2 separate regions of the Homo sapiens genome follow, and region 2 is linked to region 1. The links are contacts of gene promoters, found by promoter capture Hi-C in blood cells and fetal thymus (Javierre and others, 2016). All regions are on one chromosome and are shown on one strand. The core of a region is centred on a gene start or on the middle of the fragment in contact, and the rest is flanking DNA. Distances in the headings are between cores, read along the strand shown. Region 1 holds the start of PAPLN-AS1 (PAPLN antisense RNA 1). Region 2 overlaps PSEN1 (presenilin 1).

Evidence for each region. Contacts are between HindIII fragments. The CHiCAGO score rates a contact against its expected background, and 5 or more counts as called.
Region 2: a fragment that was not itself captured here is called in contact with the fragment with the promoter of PAPLN-AS1 in region 1 in 1 of 17 cell types (endothelial precursors); the score reaches 5.2 in endothelial precursors.

Annotation. Positions count from the first base shown.
Region 1 is chr14:73,244,610-73,247,495 of GRCh38, reverse strand. PAPLN-AS1 (PAPLN antisense RNA 1) reads left to right here and starts at 1,495. Exons shown (of 2, transcript NR_135248.1): 1 at 1,495-1,972; 2 at 2,252-2,886. It overlaps PAPLN (papilin, proteoglycan like sulfated glycoprotein), which reads right to left. Exons shown (of 27, transcript NM_001365906.3): 3 at 2,737-2,852; 4 at 1,800-1,860; 5 at 1,321-1,423. It also overlaps the pseudogene RNU6-419P. RefSeq lists enhancers at 1-235, 374-443 and a silencer at 1,391-1,660. The HindIII fragment of the contact is 12,638 bases long and covers 1-2,886 here.
Region 2 is chr14:73,166,925-73,169,810 of GRCh38, reverse strand. All of the region lies in intron 3 of PSEN1 (presenilin 1), which reads right to left. Among named protein-coding and RNA genes, the nearest start is that of PSEN1, 32 kb to the right of the region's middle. RefSeq lists enhancers at 1-494, 495-1,431. The HindIII fragment of the contact is 1,987 bases long and covers 511-2,497 here.

The DNA.
Region 1 (2,886 bases), core at 246-2,745:
GGCCATGCCCACAGCCACGATCCCCACCACACACACACAGAGAGAATATAAGTGCTCCTTGATCTGGAATCTAGAGTGCCACAGGGTCTCCAGAGGTCATTTGCCGCAAGCAGGGAAAACGAACACTCAGAAGACTTGTCTTGAGGAATCTTCTGATTCATCTAAAATGCTTAATGACATACATGTTGGTGCTTACCTGGGTGTTTTTTCCCTGAACTGTATTTCTCTAAAAATTAATGACTTATACCCTCCTCAGAGGTGCACAGACCATCTCCTCTGGCCCCCAGATCCTTGATAAATGAAGTCTTGGTGTACCAAGCCCCTTCCAGCCCCTCCTGCAGGATGACCGTGGGGCACCATTGCTACCGCTCCCGGGGTTCCCCATCTCCGTCTCTGTGCGACGGGAGGAACGCTTCCCATAGCAGACTGAGCAAAAACAGGGCTCAAAATGGTATAGACACACCATAGCTTCGTTTGAAAATATACATACATAAGGGGAGAAAGGATGGAAAGACCTCAAAATGGCTGCCATGGTGTTGCCACGGGCATGTGCTGGGGGGAGCAGGGGTACTGGTGATTGATTCATTATGGGTTGATCGATGGGGTATTTGACAAATGCTGGCTCTGGCAGCACATATACTAAAATTGGAACGATACAGAGATTAGCACAGCCCCTGCCCCCTTAGCTGGTATGGCATGCAAATTCATGAAGCATTCCATATTTACTTTAAAAATTATTTGGGAGGCTGAGGTGGAAGGATTGATTGAGCTTGGGAGGTACATGCTGCCCAGCTGACATGACACTGCTGCACTCAAGCCTGGGCAAGATCCTGTCTCAAAAAAAAAAAAAAAAGAAAGAAAGAAAAAGGAAAAGAAAAAAAGGAAAGGAAAGGAAGAGAGAAAAAAGAGCAAGCGAGAGAGAACGAGAGAGAAAGAAAAGAAAAAAAGATAAAGAAAAAGAGAGACCTCTTGCTCTCTCTCGAGGGACCTCTGCAGACCCTCTCCTCCCCAAAGGTGGGTCCTGTGGTCTACAAGATTTCCTGTACATTGCGAGCCCCCGCGCCCACCCAAAAAAAAAAAAAAAAAAAAAAAAAAAAATTGGTCGGGTACAGTGGCTCACGCCTGCAATCCCAGCACTCTGGGAGGTCGCTGCCGGCGGATCCCTTGAGCCCAGGAGTTCAAGACCAGCCTGGGCAACACAGTGAGACTGTCTCTAATATATATATATATGACAACGCCTCTATAATACGGCAATAGGAACTGTGGCATCAACGTAGGTATACAAGAGGCCCCGAGAGAGCGAGTCCCGGCCGCGCTCACCGCTGTAGTAGGGCAGCCACCGATACCGCCGCCCCTGGAACTCCGCTCCGTCGAACTCCGCGCACTGCTCGGCCCGGAAGTCCCGGGCGCCGTCGGGGCAGCTCTGCGGGGCGGAGGGGAAGTCGGGATCCAGGAGGGCGGAGTCCGAGGTCCGCCCACCTCCCGCCCCGCCCGAGCCCAGGGAGCCCAGGAGTCTCCCTTGCCTGCCCCATCGGAGCCGCCGGAGGTGGAGTCCGCCCCCCGGACCCCCGAACTCCTGTGCGTGCCCCTCCATGGTGCTCTAGGCTGTGGAGGGCAAGGCCAGTCCCCGGGAGCAGGGTGAGGAAGGGGCCCCCACGCAGCCCTGCTGTGGATTGGCGGGAGGACCCCAGGCTGGGCCAACCCAGCAGCCCGCGGCCAGGAGCGGGCATCCCAATGGGGAAATCGGCCAGGAGGGGCTGGGGAAGCTGGTGCCTTCGCCCGCGCCCCGTGAGCTTTACCTCCGTGCGACAAGAGCGGTGGCTCCGGGCGGGGCCCACGCAGCTGGAGCCTCCATCTCTCCTGCGGGACCAGAGCACCGGGAAGACCTGACCGAGACCCAACGTCCCTGCCCCCGTTCTGGGGCTCTCTGCAGGCCCCAACTTCTGCGGGACTCTCCAGTGGGAGCAGCAAGGTGAGAGGGTGTCCCCCGACCCCACCCCGTAAATCCCCCAGGTGGGAGTGAGCGACCCATGTTGGTACTCCAGAGAAGCGGGACTCAGAGCCCTACCCACCCTATAGTTTGGATTTAAGGCGGGACCACTCCACTGCATCTTAGGCAGATTCCCAGAGAAGACCCGAGGTGCATGAGATATAATACCCACCCGCTTGGCACAGCCATCCTGCGATCTAAGCAGGACATCAGTATAAGGCTCTTAGGATCATTCCTGGTCTCTCATTCCTCCTCACATAGGGTTCTCAGGAACAACCCCTATACAAACCGGGACAGAGGCACCTCACTACTCCTTCTGTGCCCCACCTTCTCCACTGACCCTGCCGGAGTGCAGCACACACAGCAAGCATTTAATAAATCGCTTGAAGTGGGGAACATCTGTACTCGGTAAAGAAACCACAGGAATTGGGAACTGCCGGTTGAAGATTATTTACCAGTTCCAGCAAAATTGACTGCACCTGCCATACTGCAGGCCGGTGCAGCATCAGGAGCTGGAGACCAGGGGCAACAGGCAGCACGCGTGCTCCAGCTCAGAGTGGAAGGCCCTGGGAAATGGTTTGATTTCCTGCGCTGAACTGATGCTGCTTCCAGAATGAATCTGCTCCTTGGTGGGTTCTGCTGATGTGGCCAGTGCTAGCCTAGGCCACGACCACCTAGCCCACCACCCAGAAGGCAGCATCCCCTGCTCCTGCTTTAACAAGCTGGCCCATTTTCATCTCTCCTACCTCTGGGAGTAGCAGGGGCGCTCCCGGAAGCTGACACCCCCTCCACAGGTCCGGCTGCAGGGGCTCCACTGGCTCCAGGGTCCCCAGGTGTCACTCTGCCGCCTCACCTTGGGAGCCTGCAGAAGACAGGACCATGCATCAGCATTGCCC
Region 2 (2,886 bases), core at 255-2,754, 78 kb after region 1:
AGTCGGGCATGGTGGCACATGCCTGTAATCCCAGCTACTCATGAGGCTACGGCAGGAGAATCACCTGAACCTGGGTGGTGGAGGCTGCAGTGAGCAGAGATCGTGCCACTATGGGTGACAAAGCAAGGCTCAAAAAAAAAAAAAAATTGGTAAGGTTGAATAAGTGACACAATCAGATGTTTCGTTTTTAGCAAACTTGATTGAGTGGCAATGAATGAGATTTCTAGCATAAGGAACTAGCATTGGTAGAGATAAGGAACACAATGGAACACAATAAGATAAACAGGCTGGAAGAGAGAAGTACTTTAGTTAGAGATATAACCAGGCAGTTAAGTCCAATGGCAGTTACCAATAGGAATTTCAAGCTCAGAAGAGTCAGAGGAAGTCACTGGTCTCTATAGCCTCAGAAATGGATGAAATCTCAGGCCTCAGAAATGGATGAAATAGCTGTGGAGGGAAAAATACAGTAAAAAGATGACCAAGGAGAGAAGTGTAAATAACCCCTAAGCTTAACCAGCAGGTGATGGGAGAAAACCAGAAAACGAGATTAAGAGAATAGAGGAGAAGGAAGAAAACTCAGGAATCAATATGACACAGAAGCCAAAAGTGGAGCACAAATCAGAGGTGTTATCAACAGTCTGGCAGGATGAGAGCTAAAAAGACCCTGAATTGACAATGGGAAGTTCATCAAGGGTTTTACAAAAGTAAAACAGTGAAGAGGGAAGTCGGATTGAGATGAGACTGGATAATTCCCTTGACCCCCTCATGGCTCGGAGCGTGGCTCGTTTACTCGGCCACCACACACTCAAACCCCTTGCAAGAGGCAGTGTGCAAGCGAGTGAGTGAGTGTGGGAATCAGAGCAAACGAATGCGGGAACCAGCCAGTTGCTCCTCTCTGGCAGGCGCAGGCTCTATGCGGCCCCGCAGCAGCATCCAAGTGTGTTACAATCAATGCTCCTTCAACGCGGCCATTCGGGGATGGCCAGGTGCCAGCCAGCTCAGTGGAGGGTCAGGGTGGCAGCCCCTGCCCTCTCCTCTTGGCACCCAGGTTCTCTTCCAGTGTCCAGGAATAATCAGATCACATGAACAGATTGAAGGGTAGTATATGCAGAAGATTGTATTGCACGATGGAAGTGGTTCTCAGCAGAATGGGGAGTTGAAAAAGGGATGGTATGGGAAGAAGGTGATCTTTCCCTGAAGCCAGGCCATCTCCGGCTGGGCCTATTCTCCAAAGCTGCACCATCTGAAGTTAGCCACGTCCCATCCATAGTCTCCAACGCTCACCTGATTCTCTGCTCGCTGCTCAGCCACTTGTATCACCAACACTCAGTGGCTTGTATTTCCGACAATCAGCTGCTTGTATTCCCAACACACAGCCATTTATATCCCTGACGTCAGCTGCTTATATTGTTCTCCCAGCTGCTGAAATCTTTTTTGTTTTTGTTTTTTTTTTTTTGAGACAGAGTCTCACTCGGTTGCCCAGGCTGGAGTGCACTGGCACAATCTGGGCTCACTGTAACCTCCGCCGCCCAGGTTCAAGCAATTCTCCTGCCTCATCCTCCCAAGTAGCTGGGATTATGGTGCCCACCACCATGCCCAACTAATTTTTGTATTTTTAGTAGAGATACGGTTTTGCCATGTTGGCCAGGCTGGTCTTGAACTCCTGACCCCAGGTGATCCACCTGCCTCGGTCTCCCAAAGTGCTGGGATTATAGGAGTGAGCCACCGCACCCAGCCCAGCTGAAATATTTTTATGAGCACAGGATAGGGGCATGGCAGGCCAAAGAGGCAACATTTGGGTGGGAAAAAAAATGGGGTTAGCTGTTTTCACTTAGGGTTGCAGTTCCAGGTTTAAGGGTGGAATTTAGCCAGGAGCCCAGCCCTTCTGTATCAAGGTCATAAAATCATAATGTGCTGGAAAATAACTGAGAACTGAGAAGGTAAAGGCAATCATTCTTCGAAGCAAAAAAAAAAAAAAAAAAGGTGGAAGAGGCTTGCAATAGAGAGTGATTTAACTTGAAAAACTTTTCTTATCCAACCCCACCAGAAATGAAGACAAAAAAAAAAACAGAAAACGTTATTTTAGAGCTGTTAGAGACTTGAGCATACCTATCATGTCACAGTGTAGACTGAAGATTAGAGGAAGAGACAAAGTGGGGATTAAAACTAATGGAATAGGGTAAGGGATAAAGGAGGGTGCTATAGTTTGAATGATCCCCCTAAAAATTCATGTACTGGAAACCTGGTTGCCATTGTGGTAGTATCAAGAGGTGAGGCCTTTAGGAGGTGACTGGGTCATGAGGACTCTGCCTTCATGAATGGATTAAAGGTTCAGTATCCTTTATCTGAAATGTTTGGGACCAGAAGTGTTTCAGATTTTGCATTTTGGAATATTTCCATTATACTTACAGGTTGAACATACCAAATCTAAAAATCCAAAATCTAAAACACTCCAATAAGCATTTCCTTTGAGCATCACATTGATACTCAGAAAGCTTCAGATTTGGGAGCACTTTGAATTTCAGACTTTCAAATCAGGGATACTGAACCTGCAATGTCGTTATCACAGGAGTAGGTTAGTTATCATGGGAGTGACTTTGTTACAAAAGCAAGCTCTCTCTTGCCGTTCTGTCTATCCACCATGGCATAATCAGGTGCTGCTGGTACCATATACTCTTGGGCTTTCCAGCCTCAAGAACCATGAGCTGAATAAACAAATCACCCAGTCTCAAAACAACAACAACAATGAAAAGAATTTCAAAAGATACAAAAAAGAAGAAAACAAATGACAACAACAAAATAAATAAATAAATAAATCACCCAGTCTGCGGTATTCTGTTATAGCAATACAAAAGGAACTAAGACAGAGGGGAACAAAAAAAAGAC